Linked DNA regions of Homo sapiens: all the other regions are linked to region 2. Evidence: promoter capture Hi-C in 16 types of primary human blood cells and fetal thymus (Javierre and others, 2016). All regions are on one chromosome and are shown on one strand. The core of a region is centred on a gene start or on the middle of the fragment in contact, and the rest is flanking DNA. Distances in the headings are between cores, read along the strand shown.

Evidence for each region. Contacts are between HindIII fragments. The CHiCAGO score rates a contact against its expected background, and 5 or more counts as called.
Region 1: a fragment that was not itself captured here is called in contact with the fragment with the promoter of PIK3IP1 in region 2 in 1 of 17 cell types (naive CD8 T cells); the score reaches 5.9 in naive CD8 T cells.
Region 3: a contact is called between a fragment that was not itself captured here and the fragment with the promoter of PIK3IP1 in region 2, in 1 of 17 cell types (non-activated CD4 T cells). The highest score is 11.5, in non-activated CD4 T cells.

What each region holds. Positions count from the first base shown.
Region 1 is chr22:30,437,381-30,440,080 of GRCh38, forward strand. It overlaps the pseudogene SLC39A1P1. Among named protein-coding and RNA genes, the nearest start is that of MTFP1, 13 kb to the left of the region's middle. The HindIII fragment of the contact is 3,153 bases long and covers 1-2,700 here.
Region 2 is chr22:31,291,232-31,293,931 of GRCh38, forward strand. It overlaps PIK3IP1 (phosphoinositide-3-kinase interacting protein 1), which reads right to left and starts at 1,257. Exons shown (of 6, transcript NM_052880.5): 1 at 1,044-1,257; 2 at 1-65. The coding sequence starts at 1,113. It overlaps LOC105372997 (a long non-coding RNA gene), which reads right to left. Exons shown (of 4, transcript XR_001755493.3): 3 at 2,499-2,590; 4 at 1,713-1,921. RefSeq lists a silencer at 1-29 and an enhancer at 590-639. The HindIII fragment of the contact is 2,122 bases long and covers 914-2,700 here.
Region 3 is chr22:30,308,978-30,311,699 of GRCh38, forward strand. All of the region lies in intron 1 of TBC1D10A (TBC1 domain family member 10A), which reads right to left. Among named protein-coding and RNA genes, the nearest start is that of TBC1D10A, 17 kb to the right of the region's middle. RefSeq lists an enhancer at 939-988. The HindIII fragment of the contact is 5,585 bases long and covers 1-2,722 here.

The sequences.
Region 1 (2,700 bases), core at 201-2,700, 850 kb before region 2:
AGTGTGAACCAAAAGTATCTGAGACAGGTCTCAATCAATTTAGAAAGTTTATTTTTCCAAGGTTAAGGATGCACCTGTGACAGCCTCACCCTGATGCCATGTGCCCAAGATGGTTGGGGCACAGCTTGGTTTTATACACTTTAGGGAGACATGAGACATCGATCAATGTGTGTAAAATGTACATGGGTTTGGTCTGGAAAGGCAGGACAACTTGAAGTGGGGTGGGGGCTTCCAGGTCATGGGTCGATAAGAGATAAAAGTTTGTGTTCTTTTGGATCCTTATCAGCCTTTCACTGAATAACAATTTACATGTGAGCCGGGGTGGCGGGTAGAGGAATAGTCACTTATGCTTTAGTCTGGCTCAGTGAAGCTGCATTTTTACATAAACAATAAGGGCAGAGGAAGCAATCAGATGCATTTGTCTCAGGTGAGCAGAGGGATGACTTTGAGTTCTGTCCTTTGTCCTGCACCTGTGAAGATCAGCTATTCATTTACATTGCCAGGGTGAAATCCAACAGAACTGTTTTAGGGTAAAAATCTTGAGGCCTACAAGGAATTTCCTTGTGGGCAAAATGTGCATGAGGTATGTAGCTTTTTAATCCTTGTAGCTATCTTATTTAGGAATAAAATGGGAGGCAAGTTTGCCTGATGCAGTTCCCAGCTTGTCTTTTCCCTTTGGCTTAATGATTTTGAGGTCCCCAGATTTATTTCCCTTTCATAGTAGATAAACTGCTCCCCATTCCAGACTTACATTCTAAGAATCAGAGAAGGCAAGTGACCTGGCAAAGGCCTCCCAGCATATATGGTCACAGGTAAAACTCAAGCCTGGTCTGTTATTCCCTCCCCAAAACTGCCTGGTAGGGAGAAGGGAAAGCCAGCCTCAGCTGTGACTGACTCCTGGCTATCTGGAGCTCTCCCTCCAGATTCCTTTCTACCTCTCTGGCTGTCACCCCAGTGCTAAGAGCCTGGGCTCAGGCCCTCCTCTCTCTACCCTGGCTGCTCCCGCTCATTCCTGTGGCTTCTGTCCCCAGTACTCTAGCACCACATCTCCTATCTGTCCCCTCTAGACATATATCATGGTAGCAGCCTCTAGCTTGTTCCTCTCCAAATGTTCCCTCTGGCCAACCACTTCTTACAATGTTCAGAACAGAGTCCAGACCCTCACAGTGGCTCTCAGGGCCCTTGGTGATCTGGATAACGCCCCTATCATACACACCCTTCTCACTGCCCCACCCCAAATCTTCATTTCAGCCATTCTGTCCTTTTTGGGTCCTTAGATCTGGTGTTTCTCCTGCCCAGGCTTTCTCATATACTGTTCCCTCCTATTGGGACACTCCCTTCCATGCCTTTCCCCCAGCCCGTCCTGCAGGTTCACCAGCCCTACCCTGATTACAGCTCCCTCCTCCCTCAGTTCCTGCTCCCCAACCCAAGGTGACCTCTGACCCCCTCTAACTGGCTTAGGAAGCTCCTCTTGTAACCGCCAAGTGGGTTATCAAGGCAGGGGAATTGCAGTGGAGAAAGAGTTTAATTTATGCAGAAATGGCTGAACAGGAGACCAGAGTTGTTTTTTGTTTGTTTGTTTTGGTTTTTCTTTTGAGATGAAGGCTTGCTCTGTCGCCCAGGCTGGAGTGCAGTGGCGTGATCTCGGCTCACTGCAACCTCCTCCTCCCAGGTTCAACCCATTCTCCTGTCTCAACCTCCTAAGTAGCTGGGACTACAGGCATGCGCCACCAGGTCTGGCTAATTTTTGTATTTTTAGTAGAAATGGGGTTTCACCATGTTGGCCAGGCTGGTCTTGAACTCCTGACCTCAGGTGATCCTTCTGCCTTGACCTCCCAAAGTGCTGGGATTACAAGCAGGAGCCACTGAGACTGGAGTTTTTTTATTATTCAAATTAGTCTCTTGGAGCATTTAGGGGCTAGGGTTTTTCAAAGGTAGTTTAAGGGAAGGGTGGCGGGGGTGGCTAGGCAATGGGGCCTGCTGCTGACTGGTTGGGGGTGCAATGATAGGGGTGTGGGAAATGATCCTGTATGCTGAGTCACTTCTGGGTGAGGCCACAGGAGCAGTTGGCAGGTCCAGGTGGAACCATAGGTGTCAGACATACAAAAAGCCTGAAAAGATACCTCAAAAAAGCCCGGGCGTGATGGCTCACACCTGTAATCCCAGCACTTTGGGAAGCCGAGGTGGGTGGATCACCTGAGGTCAGGAGTTTGAGACCAGCCTGGCCAACATGGTGAAACCTTTGTCTCTACTAAAAATACAAAAGCTAGCTGGGCGTGGTGATGGGCATCTGTAATCCCAGCTACTCAGGAGGCTGAGGCAGGAGAATTGCTTGAACCCAGGAGGCGGAGGTTGCAGTGAGCCGAGATCGTGCCATTGAACTCCAGCCTGAGCGACGAGAGAGAAACTCTGTCTCAAAAAAGAAAAAAAAAAAGATACCTCAAAAGGCCAATCTTCACGAAGGGCCAGGGGTCCCACAGGTGAGTGGAGCCCCAGCAGCCCCCTCAGCTCTGCGTGCCCATGTACTGGTCTTCTCCCTGGCTCTATACTCAGTGTTCAAGGGGTTGCAGTGAGACGGGGCTTGGGCCGCGGAGCTGCGCCTGGCTTTGCTGCTCCACAAGGGCACCGTGGCTGTCAGCCTGTCCCTGCAACTGCTGCAGAGCCACGTAGGGTTACAGGTGGTGGCTGGCTGTGGGATCC
Region 2 (2,700 bases), core at 7-2,506:
GCGGAGGCCCGGCGCGGGGGAGGTCTGGTCCTCCCGGTACAGGTGGCCGTTGTCCCAGAAACAGCCTGTGAGGAAAAGAAGCCCCCGGACACAGAATAGCGGGCAGCGAACGGAAGACGCCCAGCGTGGCGGACAGGGGAGCCGGGACCACCCGGGCTGAACCTCAGCCTGGTTAGGGGACCCCGGGCCCTGCTGGGCCTCCCTCTCCTCTCGTGGCAACACCCCCACGCCCCACGCACCCCCCCCCCCCAACTCCACGCACACCTCAGGGTGTGAAGCCCCCAGCCTGTGCCTGTCCCCCAGTCAACGCTCAGAGACTGTTAGGTTTTATTTATTTTTGAAACCTGGAAAGCGCTGCAGAAGTGCAAAGCGTTGTTACTCTTGAACTTGTGACCACTTTGGAGGAGGAGATGGAGAGGAGGAGGCCTGGCTTAGGGTCCCTTTGAGGAGCTGGGAGTTTTGGGACGGGGGGCGCCCAGACGTGACATTTGTCCCTGTGTTGTAATGGCCACGTTACATAAACTCCGGTGTTTCCTCCTTCACGGATACGGCCACCTTCTGCCCGTTTAAAAGGCAAATACTCCCTCCCAGGAGAATTCTCCAGGAGCCTTGACTCCGTCAGGCAAAAGATTCAAGACAGCCTCAAACGGAGGAAACCGGCCTCATCGCTGACTGGATGAGACTCCAAGCTCCCACTCCCCTCTGCAGGAGAACCACAGAAGGAGGCTGGGGAAGGAGGACCACACCATGCAAAGGGCTTAGAAAGAACAGGACTTGGGGAGTAGGGGAGATGAACCCCCAAGCTCCATCCACTCATGAGCAAGGAAAGGCAGAGAGAAAGTGGCTTCTTGCCTTTGTTCTTAATGGCAAAGATGGAGCTGCAAGCCCCTGACAAGGAAAGGAGGGGTGGAAAAGCTTTCACGGGACAACAGAAACCGGCTAAACGCTTCGTTTCCTGTCATCCTGGCCCTGTTTGGGAAATAGGGGGCTTTACCCCTTCTGTTTCATGAAGTTGCTGCGGAAAGGAAAGATTGTAATCTCACCTCCAGATCCATAGGCTTCTGCTAGGAGCATGTTGCTGACGAGGAATGCTTGTACCCAGGCCAACAGCATCCTTGCCTCCTTCGTCTTGCAGGTGATTGAACGACCAGTGTTTAACCGAGGCCCCCTTGGCGGCGGCTCTGCCTCCCAGTCCCAGCCTTGCAGTCAGACCTGCCCTTGTTATGCTGTTCTGGTAAACAGCCTCTCTTTAGAACTGGGAGCTTCCCAGCTAGCTTGCTGCAGCGCGAGCTGTTTTTCAGCTGAAAGGCGCCCCCTGGGTCCTAAGCCTCCTAGGTCATGCAAAATCTAACTGAGCCAAGAAAGGAACTCAGCCAAGAGATATGCAGGTTGTGCTTAGCAGCCGATCAGTTTGAGACCTGCGAGGCCGCATCCCCAGGGTTTTTCATCTCTTCTGTTTCCATTTGTGTGAGTACAGAAAAAATAATTCTATCAAGGGGCATCATGGGATGTGGGAAATTATAAGCACTAAAACACAGAACAACTTAGGGAGCTATGCACCCAGGAGGAATTCATGACCACATAGGGGGGAAAAAATAAGAGTTTCTGGTGGGGAGTGGAGTAATAGTTTTTTTTTTTTTCTTTTCTTTTCTTTTTGAGACAGAGTTTCACACTGTCGCCCGGGCTGGAGTGCAATGGCACAATCTCGGCTCACTGCAACCACCTGCCGGGTTCTCGCAATTCTGCCTCAGTCTCCGGAGTAGCTGGATTTTTTTTTTCCCTCACTCTATAGGAAATCCATTTGCTGTAATTTATATCCATCATTAAATCTCACCATATCCATTTGACTTAGGCCTTTTGGAGTTAGGCAGAAGGGCCCTTCTTCCTGTTTGGCTGACAGCTCCCAGGCAGCCTCAGTAAACTGAGAGAGAGAGCAGAGTGATTCGTCAAGACTACCTTGTGACAGGGGCACACCACCACAACCCAGCTAATTTTTTGTATTTTTAATAGAGACGGGGGTTTCACTGTGTTGGCCAGACTGGTCTTGAACTCCTGACCTCGTAATCCACCTGCCTCGGCCTCCCAAAGTGTTGGAATTACAGGTGTGAGCCACCGCGTTCGGCCGAGTAACACTTTATACCCATCCTTGAAAAAGAAAAAGGGCCTTTATGAACACTGACACTTAAAAAAAAAAAAAAAAAAAAAAAAAAAAAAAAACAGTGTAACTTGGCCAGGGTCAAATCTGTCACATTGCTTTTTCTTACATTTGAGGTTTTTTGGGGTGTTGTATATAGTAGGACTATAGAAGGAGTATCTTTAGTTGAAAACACATGTTATGCAAACATGGAAAAATTTGCTCAGCTACATTGTAATAGTCTACCCTTTCTGCCAGCCCTAAATTGTATAGAGGAATTTAAGTAAAATGTTTGCTTTTTTTTTTTTCCCTCACCCTATAGGAAATCCATTTGCTGTAATTTATATCCATCATTAAATCTCACCATATCCATTTGACTGAGGCCTTTTGGAGTAGGCAGAAGGGCCCTTCTTCCTGTTTGGCTGACAGCTCAAGTTCCCAGGCAGCCTCAGTAAACTGAGAGATAGAGCAGAGTGATTCGTCAAGACTACCTTGTGACTCAGTCAGATCCCAAAATAGAAATGGGGAAACTCTGTTTCAATCTTGCAGGCTGTAATTTAAGGAGG
Region 3 (2,722 bases), core at 16-2,515, 980 kb before region 2:
CCCTCTGTCACAGTGACCTATATGCTATTTCCAGTTCCCTGGGGAAGGCTGTGGGGAAATCAGGCCCTTCTCCAGATGCTTCTGTGTGGCTCCATCTCTGGCGCCCAAGCCACTGGAGACAGTCTAACCCCCTCCTCCAGTGTTGTGACTGCCCCAGTGAGTGGCCTGCCCGTACCTAGCAATGCTCAGAGACACCAATACACTGGATGGGATGGTTTGCCAGCACAACCTCAGGTGCAGATGGTAAGCCTGGGTAATCTGCCATTTTTTTTTTTTTGAGACGGAGTCTTGCTCTGTCGCCCAGGCTGGAGTGCAGTGGCATGATCTCAGCTCACTGCAACCTCCACCTCCCGGGTTTAAGTGATTCTCTTGCTTCAGCATCCCAAGTAGCTGGGGCACCACCACACCCAGCTAATTTTTGTATTTTTAGTAGAGACGGGGTTTCACCATGTTGGCCAGGATGGTCTCAATCTCTTGACTATGTGATCCACCCGCCTCAGCCTCCCAAAGTGCTGGGATGACAGGCATGAGCCACCGCACCCGGCCAGGGCAATCTGCCATTTGCTGGCAACCCCAGCTTCTGAGGAGGAAAGGCTCAGAGGAGACAAAGGTGGCACCTAATCACAGATCTTGTCAGGCTCCTGGACTGGAACAGGCTTAGCCATGCTGTGCCACGTCATGGTCCAAGGCAGCAGTGACACTCTGCTGACCCCATTCTCTGTAGGTTCCCAGTTTCCTAGCGTTCTCCCAAAACCCAGAGGCTTGAGGCTTCCAAAAGTTCAGAAGGACAAGACTGCTTCCCAGGCTACTGAGACCAAGGGCTGGGGTTCTCTCTTCCCTTGTCCTTCTAGACATCTGCTTTCTGCCCAAGCACATCTCAGCACCTCTGGCTAGGCAGGTTCAGCAAGGGCAGTGTCCATGCTCATCACCTCCTTATCCTAGCCTGTCGTGGGAGATAAATCTTGATACCAAGGAACCCGTCTAAACCCTCCTCCAAGCCTCACTCCCTGAACCAGCCCAAACAAAGAGAAATACACCCTAAGCAGAAAGTCTGAGGTCACAGACCACAGGACTGATCCTCCTCTCACCCATAGGGGAAACCAGGTGGGGTGTAGGGGAGAATAAATAGAGTGGGGACTTGAAGTTAGCTGAGCTAGGTACTCCAGTTCTGCCATCTACTAACTGGGAGACCATGTGCAAAAAGTGACAACTTCTTCATCTTTCAGTGGGGTCATAACGCACACCTCATCTCTTATAGGGCTGCAATGAGGAATAAATGTGTACAAGGGCCCAGCCTGGTGGGTGGCCAGCAAATGGTAGCTATTAGGTGACTGGTATTTGCGGCTTAACTAGCAATTTCACATCTCTTTTCTCATCTGACTGGTCCCCATACACAGGCCTTTGAGGAAGGCAGGGCATGATTACCACCATTTTACTCATGAAGCAATTGAGGCTCTGAGAGATTACTTAATTTGCTCAATGGTAAACAAATTCTAACTCCTGGCCGCTGATCCAAGCTCTACCGCTTTACAGCTGTGTGAAACAGGGCTGGCTGCTTTGCTCTCTGAGCTTCCAGTTCCTCATCTGTAACCCAGGAGGAATGCCACCTCCTCAGAGAACATTGGTAAACATGATGTGAGGCAATTAAGAGCTGACACTTTCATGCGCTGGCCGTGTACTAGCTCTGCCAAGCACTACACAGGCACACAATCCCCCAAGGAAATAGCTTTAATTATCTCCATTTAATAGACAAGAACACTAAGATTCAGCACAGTGGAGTAATATGCCCAAGGTTACATAGCCTGGAAGTAGAGGCTGCCACCTGAGCACTAAACTATACAAGACATATAAAGTCCCCCGCTCATACCATGGCTTCAATCCCTGTCACATTCCCTTCCCTCTTCTTATCACCCTCTGTGCCGAGAAAGGCAGGGGTGAATAACGTGAAAAAAACCCCTCACACTTGGGTCTCCAGGATGGAGAGGAGGCAGTTGGAGGAAGTCCCACCAAAGTGTGGAAAATTGGGAAGTGGATGTGCAGGGGGAGCATGGCCAATCACCGATCCAGAGGGTTTCCCTCTCCACCCAGAGCCTGAAAGTGAAGTGAGGACAAACAAAAGGCTGACCTGTTTTGCATACTAGGCAACAACCTCTGGAGTTCACTACCCTAAGAGGTGGTAATGAATGAAGGTATAAATGGCTTTTAGACCAGTTCCATAAGAAGTGATGATGAGAAACCAAAGGCAGGAGAGGGTAGGCTGGTGGTGTGCAAATGGCTGTCAGGACTGGGAAACCTATGAGATCATGCAGTGAGGCCATCCCCTCCCCAGAAGGTAAGCGGTCTGCCTGACGCCACACACTCTGTGAGTTGGTAGGAAAAAGGAAGAGGGTCTGCAGCAGCCTGGCACTCCCTTCTGGGGCCCGGCCACCCCTGCCTAGGAGCCGGCTGGCAGTGTCCAGGCTCCCTGTCTGAGTGAGAGAGTCTGGCTTGCTTCACTCTCCCTCCTTCCCAATGCAGGCTAATTCTGGGGCTGCCTGTCTTTCCCATGAGGAATTCCCTGGCTCTGCTCCTTCTAGTGCTGGGTCAGTGCACAATGGTAAACAGGTTCTCTCCACCCTTCACTGGCCTTGGTGCCCTGGACCTCTGCCCAGCTCTCTACTCTGCTCAGCTCCACCCTACTCAGTGTGAGAAATGGTTCCTTTAGCACTAGCCTTGCTGGCTC